Regions from separate parts of the Homo sapiens genome. Here all the other regions are linked to region 3. Evidence: promoter capture Hi-C in human tissues and cell types (Jung and others, 2019). All regions are on one chromosome and are shown on one strand. The core of a region is centred on a gene start or on the middle of the fragment in contact, and the rest is flanking DNA. Distances in the headings are between cores, read along the strand shown. Region 1 overlaps RTN1 (reticulon 1). Region 2 has its middle 33 kb from the start of DHRS7. Region 3 holds the start of LRRC9 (leucine rich repeat containing 9).

Region 1 (4,090 bases), core at 880-3,379, 300 kb before region 3:
CCAGACTGATCTTGAACTCCTGATCCTGTGATCCACCTGCCTCGGCCTCCCAAAGTGCTGGGATTATAGGTGTGAGCCACCGCGCCCGGCCTATAGATATATTTAAAAGGCCTTTATGTTTTTCTCTTCTTGGAACTTGTTTTTCTGGAAAAAGGATTTTTCTTCTCAGTCGACTGTATTATTTTTCTCCATTTTTTTGCCTTGTCCTTCTTAAAGCACTCATGAGAGGCCCTAAGATAACTTCTGGTAGCCTGAGATTCATTGGGAAAAACAGAGGAGGCACCACATACCCTGTTTTGGAAAAAAAAAACCCTCTGATTTCCTTATAAAACCCCAGGAATTTAAAAGCAGATAAATCCCTCTCAAAATTAAAGGATCTGTTCTGTTTTGCATACTGTTATCTGATGGTTTTGAGTTTTGGGGGTATCAGAAATTACTTCGTATTATGATAATTAGGTAGGAAATATAAGGGATGGCTAATAGTAGTTATGGAGGGATACTTAATTCTTTGCACACTTGGATAGGAGAAGCATGCTCTTGGCTACTTGGAAGACAAGAAAACGCCCCCACTACCCCCACTGGGAGATGAGACTCCCAGGAGAGATGGGCTGATTACAAAATGGGCTGATTGGCTTTGGGTTACCTTGCAATAAAATGCAGGGTAGAAGCATTGCACTATCTTCTCCTGAGTATTTTCCTCCTTTTGGGGATCCGGGATCCGGTATAAAATGGTACCCTTAATTTTGGGGATCTGTCTTTGCCTTCAGCTGCTTATTTGGCCCTAGAAATTCATGTTTTCCTGGCCCTGCTCCTCCAAGGGCTCCACCCTGAAGCCAGTCATCCAATTAAGAAACTGGCAAATGAAAAATTTCACAAGTGCTAAATCTCCTGTCTGTGTATTTATATGTGTTGTATGTTTACATATAAAAAAACTCTAATTGGCTTAGAAACATAAGTGCTTAAATCAAATATTTTGTCAGAAAAATAGAAACTTTAATGCCGTTTTGTTCACGTGACTTTAGGAATCTTTGGGAAATAAAGACAGTTTTAAAGATTATTGGTAAAATAAAATGTCTTGAAAATGTAGACATTTGGTCTAAATTAAGGTCAAATATCAAATTTGCTAAATGCTTTAAGGTCAAGCTGTTTCTTTGACTTTTGAAAATTGTTCGATTTACCTACTTTGGAGCAGATTATAGATAAGGCCTGGGGACATACGGAAAGCCAAGTCCACTAGCTATGCTAAAATGAGTCAGATCTTCATTTCTGTCCGATGTCCTAGGCTCCACCCTTAGTAGATAATTAAAATCTCTTACTTATCAGGTTTTTCACTAAAAATAAAAGTTTCTAACAGTTAACATTGTAATATGTAGTTGAGACCACTGAAGAAGCAGTTTTACATACAAGGTATGTAGGGAATGTGTTTTTGGTAAAAGATTATAAGAAGGCATGGGAATATAGCTTTTGTTAAAGGGAATGTAATTTTGGCTAGTTCTGAGGGTTTTAAAAATTGTCTTAACCTAAAAGAGTAACAGAACAAAACTGAAGGCTTAAGCAAAGTGAAAGGGTTAATCTTGTAAAAATTCTGTGGGTATAAACCAGTTGGCTAATATTTAAAAGAAATTATTTAGCTTTTTTCCTTAGGTTAAAACATTAAAAGCGGCTGGGCATGGCGGCTCATGCCTGTAATCCCAGCACTTTGGGAGGCTGAGGGTGGTGGATCACCTGAGGTCAGGAGTTCGAGACCAGCCTGACCAACGTGGAGAAACCCTGTCTCTACTAAAAATGCAAAATTAGCTGGGTATGGTAGCGCATGCCTGTAATCCCAGCTACTCGGGAGGCTGACGCAGGAGAATCACTTGAACCTGGGAGGTGGAGGTTGCGATGAACAGAGATCATGCCATTGCACTCCAGCCTGGACAACAAGAGTGAAACTCCATCTAAAAAAAAACAAAACAACAACAACAACAAACATCAAAATCATACTGATGTGGGGCCTGAATCTGGGCCCATGTGTCTGAATAACAGGGCTTTCTTAGAAAATTGATCTGCTGTTTAATGGAAAATTGTAAAGGGTTCTAAAGGGTTTGTGAAAATCTTACCCTATGGTCAAACTAATTAAAACTGAATAAAGATACAAAATTTTATTTAAAAACACTAGCTTTAACATTAACAATGCACGAATGCAAACATGAAATATGTTTTTCTCTTTTAAAGATGATTTTTATGTAATGTTAAAAGATAATAAAAAGGTCTTATTTTCTTCTTTGGGTAAATGGCAGGGAAAAAAAGGAGGAAAGAAAGAAAAGAGATAGATTTATTTGGCCTCATGCTATCTTCATTGCATCTTGTTTGGAAAGCTAAGTCTCCTCTATTAGAGTAAAGGTTTTTCTTTTTTAAAATTTTTTTTGGAGTTATCATTTTGGCCAAATGAATTACGTATGGTAACCTAGGATTCTATTTTGTGATAACCAGTATTTTAAACCTTTGATATTTAACAAACTTTCCAACATCAAATTATAAATTATGTCTCTTTTTTACCTAATATTTTAGATATTAGGTCCTCTAAAGTCCAAAAATAACATTTGGCTTATTTGGTACAAAAATCATACAGAAAGCATTGTCAAATATGAAATGGTGTTTGGCTTTCTTTGGTCTATATTTGTGTAAATGCGTTATTGGTATATGCTCTGAAATTATGCAAAACTCCTGTTATTCTAATATAACTTAGTATATGTTATCAGTAATCATCATAATTATTATGTTAACAGACTGTGTGCCACAGAGGTAACAAATTTTCTTGTCAATTGTGTCTTTAACTGTGGCTGCCTTAAAATATTTTTATCATCCACAGACAATTGTCTCATTTTGGTGAAAATTGTTTCATACTCAGCTATCAAATTTAACAGGTGCTCTTAAATGCAGGATTCTAATTAATAATGCTGAAAATTGTGACATTAAAATAGAGGAAAATGTTTCAAATAGAAGACTAAGTGGCATTTGGTTTACTTTGGACTTTATTTATATAAATGTTATTAGTATGTGTTCCAAAATTATGGGAAACTTCTATAATGTTGATACAATTTAGTGTACATTATTAATAATTATAATTGTTATGTAAAATTGTTGTATGCCACAAAAGTAAACAAAACTGCTACATAATTGTAGCTTTAATAGTGGCTATAGCCTTTTGTCATCCACAGACATTTTGTCTTGCTTTGGTCCTTTTCAAAAGGCAGTTTATAATCAGATATACGACTCTTAAGTGCAGGTCTCAAATAACTTTAAAAATTGTGCTATTGAAAGAGAGGAAAAGAACAAACTTTTAGGGCTCTCATGGAAAGCTAATGTGTTAAACATTGCTAAACCTTTTCTTTCAGAGTCAGGAGGACTTATTTCTTTAGAGCTATTTGCAACTTCTAACAAGTGAGTAAAATATACTCCTATAAACAAAATTTGGAGCACATTTGTTCCTCTCTACCTAATTTCTCCAGAATTTGAAAACTATTTGTTAATATTCTCAATTTATGGAAGTATAGTTAATTGCATAAGTGTAATAACAATCTGTTTTCTTTTCTAACAGGACACATTTGGAGAAACTGGTTATTTTACCAAGGCTTTAAGTGAAATGGCACGCTTCCTTTAAAGAATCAAAGTTGACTTATAAAGCCAATTAAAGCCCGTTGGGGAATCTGTTCTCATACCTTGTTCACAAAGTCCCTGTACAAGGTTCCTGACCTGTGGTAAGTAAAGAATGTCACTTTATAACAGGGCCAGGAACCCCAAGTTATTTTGGGACCTCAAGAGAAGAGGAATTTTCCCACCTCATAGGTATTAAAGGGTATAAACCCATTGCTGGGCTCAGCTTTTAAAAAGTATTATCTAAAGTTCTTAACAGAACAGAGTTCTATCAAAGCCAATTGAAAAAGCTTACATGAAAAATAATTACTCTTGCTGTACTTTATGCAAATAATCAGGCCAAGTACAGTAAGAGTAAAATTCATTTTATAAACAAACCATTTCTTGATTTGTTTTTAATAAAAATGATGACTGGAGAGAGAAAAATTATGATTCAAAAGAAAAACTATAC
Region 2 (4,083 bases), core at 1,510-4,009, 280 kb after region 3:
ACCACAATGACTAATCACTCTATACCTACCAGAAGGGGAAAATAAAAAAAATAGTAACAGCACCAAACGGTGATGAGGAATGAAGAGAAACTGAATCACTCATACGTTGTTGATGGGAATATAAAATGGTACAGCCACTTTGGAAAATACTTTGGTAGTTTCTCTAAAAGCTAAACACACAAATATTCATATGACCCAGCATCTGTACCCTTGAGCATTTATCCCAGAGAAATGAACTTATACCCACAACAAATGTTGTTCACAAATGTTCATATCAGCTTTATTCATAATGGCCAAAACTGGAAACAGTCCAGAGGCCTTTCAATGAATGAATGGTTAAATAAACTGTGACATATCTATACCATGAAATACTACTTAGCAATAAAAAGAAACAAACTATTGATACGTGCAATAATGTGGATGAATCTCCAGGGAATTATGATGAGTGGGGGAAAAAGTCAATCCTAAACAGTTACATACTATATGATTCTACTGTATTTCTTTAACAACAGTTCAATGTTAAGATTTAACATATTTTAACATTTTGAGCATTTAATATTCTTTTATTTAACATTCAATATTTAAAATTATTTAACAAATTTAAGCACATATTTAACATAAAATTTCAGAAATGAAGAACAGACTAGTGGTTTCCAGAGTTAAGAACCAGAGTTGGAAAGTGGGGCAAAAGAGAGGAGAGAGGCAGAGTAAGATGGTCAGAGAGAACATTCCAGTAATCATCCCCCCAGCAGGAACACCAAATTGAATAACTATCCACAGAAGAAAGCACCTTCATAAGAACCAAAAATCAGGTCAATAATCACAGTACCTACTTTTAACACCATATCAAGGAAAGAGGCACTGAAGAGGGCATGAAAGACAGTCTTGAATTATCAATACCACCCCTCCCCAATCCTCAGCAGCGGCTACATAGTGCTGAGAGAGAATCTGTGCATTTGGGGGAGGGAGGACAAAGTGACTGTGGGATTTTGCATTGGAACCCAGTGCTGCTCTGTCACAGAGGAAAGCAACACGAGGCAGAATTCACCTGGAGCCCATGTAGAAAGCATTCAGACCAGCCTTAGCCAGAGGAGAATTGCCCATCCCAACAGTTGGAATCTGAGTTCCAGCAAGCTCTGCCACCATGGATTAAAGTGCTCTGAGGTCCTAAATCAACTTGAAAGGCCATCTGTGTCACAAGGGCTACAATTTCTGGGCAAGTCCTGTTGCTGTGCTGGGCTTGAAGTCAGTGGTCTGGGGGTGCATATAACCTAGTGAGACAGCAGCCAGGGTGGCCAAGGGAGTGCTCACACCACCCTTCCCCCAACCCCAGGCACTGCAGCTTGCAAATCCAGGAAGGACTACTTCCTTCTGTGTGAGGAGAAGAAGGAGTAAAGAGGACTTTGTCTTGCAACTTGGATACCAGCTCAGCCACAGAAGAATAGGGCACCAGAAAGAGTCCTGATGCCTCCACTGTAGGCTCTAGCTCTTGGATGACAATTCTAGACACATTCTGGGCCAAAAGGGAACCTGCTATTTTGAAGGGAAGGACCCAGTTCTGGCAGGATGAGTCACCTGCTAACTAAACAGCCCTTGGGCCCTGAATAATAAGCAGTGGCACCCAGGCAGTTCTCACCATAGGCCTTGGGTGGGACTCAGAGCTGTGCTGGCTTCGAGTGTGACCCATCACATTCCCATGTGTGGTGGTCACAGGGACAGACCCATTCTGCCTGAGAAAAGGAGAGGAAATAACAAAGGGCACTTTGTCTAGCAGCTTGGGTACCAGCTTGACCACACTGGACTAGAGCACCAGGCAGGCTCCTGGGGTCCCAGATTCTAGGCCTTGGCTCCTGGACGGCATTTCCGCACCTGCCTTGGGCCAGAGGGTGGCCCAATGCCCTGAAGTAAGAGACCCCGGCTGGCAGCATTCATCACAAGCTGACCAAAGAGCCCTTGGGCCTTGAGTGAATATTGATGGTAGCCAGGCAGTACTCATCAGAGGCACCTTCTGGTTGAAGAAAGGAGAGGAAGGCATGTGAAAGACTTTGTCTTATGGCTTAGATGCCAGTTTGGCTGCGATAGGATAAAGCACCAAGTAAATTCCAAGGTTCCTGGCTCCATGCCGTGGCTCCTAAATGGCATGTCTGGGCCCACCCTAGGCTAGAGGGTGGGTGCTCACTGACCTGAAAGCAAGGACACATACCTGGCTGGACTCACCACCTGCTGATTGAAGAGCTCGTAAGCCCTGAGTGAACATCGGCAGCAGCCAGGCAGTGGATGCTGCAGGTGTTGGGTAAGACCTAGTGCTATGCTGGCTTCAGATCTGACCCAATATGGTCCCAGTGGCAGTGGTCACAGGGGGCTTGTGTCACCCCTCTCCTAGCTCCAGGAAGCTCAGCACAGACACAGAGAGAGACTCCATTTGTTTGGGGGAAAGTAAGGGAAAAGAGCAAGAGTCTCTGCCTAGTAATCTGGGGAATTCTCTCAGCTCTAACCCAAGACCACCAAGGCAGTACCTCTATAACACTGCAAGAGTCACAACTTTACTGGGCTTGGTGGGGGCCCCTAATGCAGATACAGTTGCAGTGACCAAAGACTTACATCACAGTAGTCAATTCCCTTTGAATACTTGGAGAGCCTTTCCAAGAACAGGTACGATCAAGCCCAGACTGTGAAGACTATAATAAATGCCTAACTTCTCAATGCCCAAACATTGACAAACATCAAGAAGCATAAAGACCATCCAGGAAGACATGACCTCACCAGATGAACTAAATAAGGCACCAATGACCAATCCTAGAGTGACAGAGATATGTGATCTTTCAGATAGAGAATTCAAAATAGCTGTTTTGAGGGAGCTCAAAAAATTCAAAATAACACAGAGAAGGAATTCAGAATCCTATCACATACATTTAACAAAGACATTGAAATGAAATTTAAAGGTCAGGCAGAAATTCTGGAGCTAAAAAATGCAATTGACATATTGAAGAATACATCAGAGTCTCTCAACAGAATTGATCAAACTGAAGAAATAATTGGTGAACTGGAAGATGGGGTACTTGAAAATACACAGTCAGGCCAGGCACAGTGGCTCATGCCTGTAATCCCAATTCTTTGGGAGGCCAAGGCAAGAGTATTGCTTGAGGCCAGAAGTTTGAGATCAGCCTGGGCAGCATAGTGAGGCCCCACCTTTACAAAAACATTTAAAAATTATCTGAGTATTGCAACACATGCTCATAGTTCTAGCTACTTGGGAGGCTGAAGTGGGAGGATCATTTGGGTCTAGGAGTTTGAGGTTACAGTGAGCTATGATTGTACCATTGCTCTCTATCCTAGGTGGCAGAGCAAGATCTCATCTCAAAAATAAGTTTAAAGGAAAAAAAAAAGAAACAAAATACACAGTCAGAGGAGACAAAAGAAAAAGGAATAACAGAGAATGAAGCGTGCTTACGAGATCTAGAAAATAGCCTCAAAAGGGCAAATCTAAGAGTTATTGGCTTGAAAGGGGAGGTAGAGAGAGAGAAAGGGGTAGAAAGTCCATACAAAAGGATAGTAACAGAGAACTTTCCAAACCTAGGGAAATATATCAATATTCAAGTACAATAATGTTATAGAACACCAAGAAGATTTGACCCAAATAAGACTACCTCAAGACATTTAATAATCAAACTCCCAAAAGCCAACAATAAAGAAAGAATCCCAAAAACAGCAAGAGAAAAGAAACAATAACATACAAAGGAGCTCCAATATGTGTGACAGCAGACTTCTCAGTGGGAACCCTACAGGCCAGGAGAGAATGGCATGGCATGACAAATTTAAAGTTCTCAAGGGAAAAATATTTTATTTTAGAATAGTATATCCAGTAAAAGTATTCTTTGAACATGAAGGAGAAATAAAGACTTTCTGAGACAAACAAAAGCTGAGGGATTTCATGAACACTAGACCTATCCTATAAGAAATGCTAACAGTTCTTCAATCTGAAAGAAGAGGATGTTAATGAGCAGTAAGAAATCATCTAGGCTGGGCATGGTGGCTTACGCCTGTAATCCCAGCACTTTGGGAGGCCAAGGCGGGAGGATCACC
Region 3 (3,883 bases), core at 820-3,319:
ACTCTTTTTGCATTGCTTCTATGGCTTTTAACTGTAAGCATCTTTTGCTTCAAACAACATTTCGAATATGTGAACAGAAGGTGATTCTCTTAAGACTTACCCTGTGGACAAAGGCTTTATTTTGGCAAGTCACCAATAGTTCTTAAGTCTACAGCTATGCAAGAACTCAGACTCAGTTGCTGACTGGCCAGATCCTTGAGCTTTACCTAGAATAATAACAATCTTAAAATTATTTGTTTATATCATGTAAAGAAAACTGTTAGCTCTCTCCTAGTCTTTCACTGGTCAGGAAAATCCCAATAGATTCCTAAAAATATACTTTGATAATGTTTATACTTTCATCCCAGAGCTGGACCCCTCAAATTAAGAAACTTAGTGTAGATAATTCGCTGAACTGGTTTCTGTTCAAATTTCTATGTCTAGAAGTGTAGAAATCTCAACTATTATGTTCTAATTCATCTTTATACTCTATGAAGAAAACTTCCCCAAAGACAGGTCACCTTGTTCAACTACATTTCAGAGAAGATAATAGTAAAAGTAAAAACTATGAATCTGACTTTTCTGGCATTAGTTTGAAACCCCTAAGCCACAAATAACTTTAATTAGCTTATTTCGAATTATCTATTAATGACAGATAGAAACAATTTTCTGTGAAATAAGAATGTAGAGGGAAAACCAGTTAATTTTTGTTTATGTATCTTTACAAACGGTCTATATTACAGATAAAGTTAATTGAATAAAGGCAAATATGCTGAAATTGTTGACAATTGTTAAATGAGAATATTCCTAAAATCTGAACTTTTTCTTGGGAAAGCAGTTCAAAACTATAGTCTATTTAATGAGGTGGCCATCTGGTGACAGAAAGAAGCACTACAGACAATATTTTGCATTAACATCACAACTATTCTACACAAACCGACTGAACCACATAAAAGAGAGCACAGTCCAAAAGAAACATAATTCAAGTCATACATGCAATTTAAAATTTATCTAACAGCCGCATTTTCAAAATAGAAACAATAATTTTAACAATATTTTTTATTTAACCCAATGTATCAAAAATATTATTTCAACATTTAATCAATATGAAGATTAATAACGAAAGAGTTTATTTTTTTCATACTAAGCCTTCAAAATACAATGCGTACCTTACAGCACATGTCAATTTGGACAAGCCACATTTCAAGCGATCATGGGCCCTGCGAGTCTGTGGGTAGCGGCTCACCCTGCTGGACTGCGCAGATCCAGAGAACGACACGAGACCTGCGGTTGCTTTGGTTTGCCTTTTACTAAGTTCATTTCTCAGCCTCTCTGCCCACTCTGAAAAGTCTCCCCTTTCCCCCCTTTTAATTCTACTCTATTTTGTAAATTACTGTTGTCTCCTGAAAATTTTGGAATGCTTAAAAGGCACTCAAAAGCCTGTCCGAGATCGACTAGAAGACCCTCGGAAGGTCCCTCTCTTCTCTGGACCTCACTGGGCGTTCGTTTGCCCGCGCCGTCCTTCCATTCGGCTTGCCGGGCGCGCAGCGGCTTGCGGCTGTGGTCAGCCACCTTCCCGGGAGGCGGTGGTCGCTGGCCGCGGGAAGGATGCCGCGCTGGGGGTCGGGGTTCGTCCCGGCTGTCACGCCACCTTGTGACATCACAGGGCCATGCCCTCGGGGCTCAAGGCCAGAGAGGCTCCGCGCTTCCAGGACCCGAGAGCTAAAGATAATGAATGGGAGAGAGCGAGACTGGAGGAGGTAACGAATAAGTCCCCACCACCTTGCCCATAACGCGTTGCTTTCAGTCACGTTCCGCGAACTGGCGAAGGTAAGTGAAAAGATAAGCGCAGGTACAGAAAAACCTGCCAGCGAGAAGCTCCCGCCGTTTCCCAGGAGCCCCAGGTGGGGTCTTCCGGTTGGACCCCTGCTTCCGCTGATTGGTTGGAGGTCGCCACCACGTGATGCAAACCCGGGTCGGCCTCCGCTTCCCCCCCACCCTTTTATCCCCCTCCCCGCCCCTTTTCTCCTCCTCCCCACCCGGAGGTCGCCGGAGGCGGAGATCAGGTTACCTAGGCAACCGCCACAGGCAGTCTGTACACACCAGGCCTGGGGCGGGAGAGGGTTTCCTACCTTCTGCTGCAAGACAGGGATTGGGAAATCGGAGTGGACTCGGACTTGAATCGGATTGCCCCGGAATCCACCCTCTCTCTGTGATAAGGTCAGAATCCGTCACCTGGTGGCCTTCGGGCGTACATCACCGGGAGTCTTTGATCCCCTCTTTTTCCTTCCAAGCCATACCAAGGGGAAGACGCCAGTGAAGCAAAGTTGAGGTCAAGGGAACTCCGTAATGGTGCAATGGTGATGATAATGATGAAAGACAGTGAGGTGGCTTTACTGAGGCAGTCAGGGTACCAGAACAAAGTTCAAGAGAAGGAAAGGGAGGGTGGCCTACAGCCAACTATGCAGATTTTACTGCACCAATTAAGATTCTGGGCTGGAAAAACCAAGTGCTCCCTAACCAAACCTGACACTGCTCATCTAGAGAGTGTAGGGGGTTTATTTGGACCATCAGTGGTAACTGATGGATTCTGATCCTTTTATACCCAAAGGAGGAAATAATTTGACCCATACAGGACTTCTACTGGGCAGAGAAAAAAAAAGTTTTCTCAGAATGACATCCTAACCAACTCTCACGGCAGACAGAAACCATGGTCCTTTTTACTCTATCATTATACTCTGGTCATGGAGAACGATTATGTCTTTAAATTATACCATATGCCTGTGGCATGACAATTAACCCATTAAACAATTTTTTTAACAACTAGCATGTGCCAGACAGTGAACCTGTGATAGGTTCACAGTTTCTGCCTTCAATGAACATGTAACCTAGTAGGGAAGAAAGGCCCGTAAACATTGTTTTACAGTGTGACAAGTGCTATACAAAGAGTATGTGCAAGCCCTAACCAGAATCACAAGAAAGAGAATGCTTATAATACTACCAGAGAGAATGAAAGTCTTCAAAGAGAAGATCTTTGATTTAAATCTTTAGGGAAGTATGGAGTATGCCATACAGCCAAGGGAAAAGGACATTTTAGGGAGAGGAAACAGCCCATGCCAAAGTACAGAAACATCCATTCAGTTCCAGAGAACTATAGTTGTGGCCTGAACCTAGGGTCCTCTGTGGAGGTTGTGGCTGATGAGCATGTGAGGTAGGCAGGAGTCAGAGCATGGAAACCATTAATACCTTCCAAAGGGGTAAAGCATGAGCAGATTTACCTTTCAGGAGGCTGTCACAGTAGTGTAGAGGATGAACTTGAGGGAAGACAGACTACAGGGAGGACATCAAGTTAAGGGGAGGTGATGAGGGCCTGAACCAAGGCAGAGGCAATTGGAATGAGGAGGAGGAAAAAAAATGTGGTAAGACCTTTAAGAGGTATATGCAGAAGGATTTAATGAGTGAATGAAAATAGGGGGATAGAGTCAAAGATTGGTTGAGGATAATAGCTCAACCAATAGAAGAATGGTGGTGTTACTTTTCAAGAGAAGGCATACATTAGGAGAAGGAGGCTGGTTGGAAAATATAATGAGTTCAATTTTGAACACACTGAATTTGAGATGCCTGTGGCACATTCAGATGGAGCTTTTTCATGTGGGCAGTTGGATTTTTTTTTTTTTTTTTTTTTGCACAGAAAAGAAGATAAGGATTTTTCACCATGAAGAAAACAATTGGTTTGAAAAGCACAAAGTAGGCCAGGCACGGTGGCTCATGCCTGTAATCCCAGCACTTTGGGAAGCCGAGGCGGGTGGATCACAAGGTCAGGAGTTCGAGATTAGCCTGGCCAATATGGTGAAACCCTGTCTCTACTAAAAATACAAAAATTAGCCGGGTGTGATGGCACGCG

What was found. Contacts are between HindIII fragments. The study calls those that stand out against the background at their distance.
Region 1: a contact is called between a fragment that was not itself captured here and the fragment with the promoter of LRRC9 in region 3, in 1 of the 25 tissues and cell types used here (aorta).
Region 2: a fragment that was not itself captured here is called in contact with the fragment with the promoter of LRRC9 in region 3 in 1 of the 25 tissues and cell types used here (hippocampus).

Annotation. Positions count from the first base shown.
Region 1 is chr14:59,613,507-59,617,596 of GRCh38, forward strand. All of the region lies in intron 3 of RTN1 (reticulon 1), which reads right to left. Among named protein-coding and RNA genes, the nearest start is that of MIR5586, 31 kb to the right of the region's middle. The HindIII fragment of the contact is 5,580 bases long and covers 1-4,090 here.
Region 2 is chr14:60,196,489-60,200,571 of GRCh38, forward strand. No RefSeq gene overlaps it. Among named protein-coding and RNA genes, the nearest start is that of DHRS7, 33 kb to the left of the region's middle. The HindIII fragment of the contact is 7,748 bases long and covers 1-4,083 here.
Region 3 is chr14:59,918,075-59,921,957 of GRCh38, forward strand. LRRC9 (leucine rich repeat containing 9) reads left to right here and starts at 2,070. Exons shown (of 33, transcript NM_001395648.1): 1 at 2,070-2,199. RefSeq lists an enhancer at 1,230-2,429. The HindIII fragment of the contact is 18,773 bases long and covers 1-3,883 here.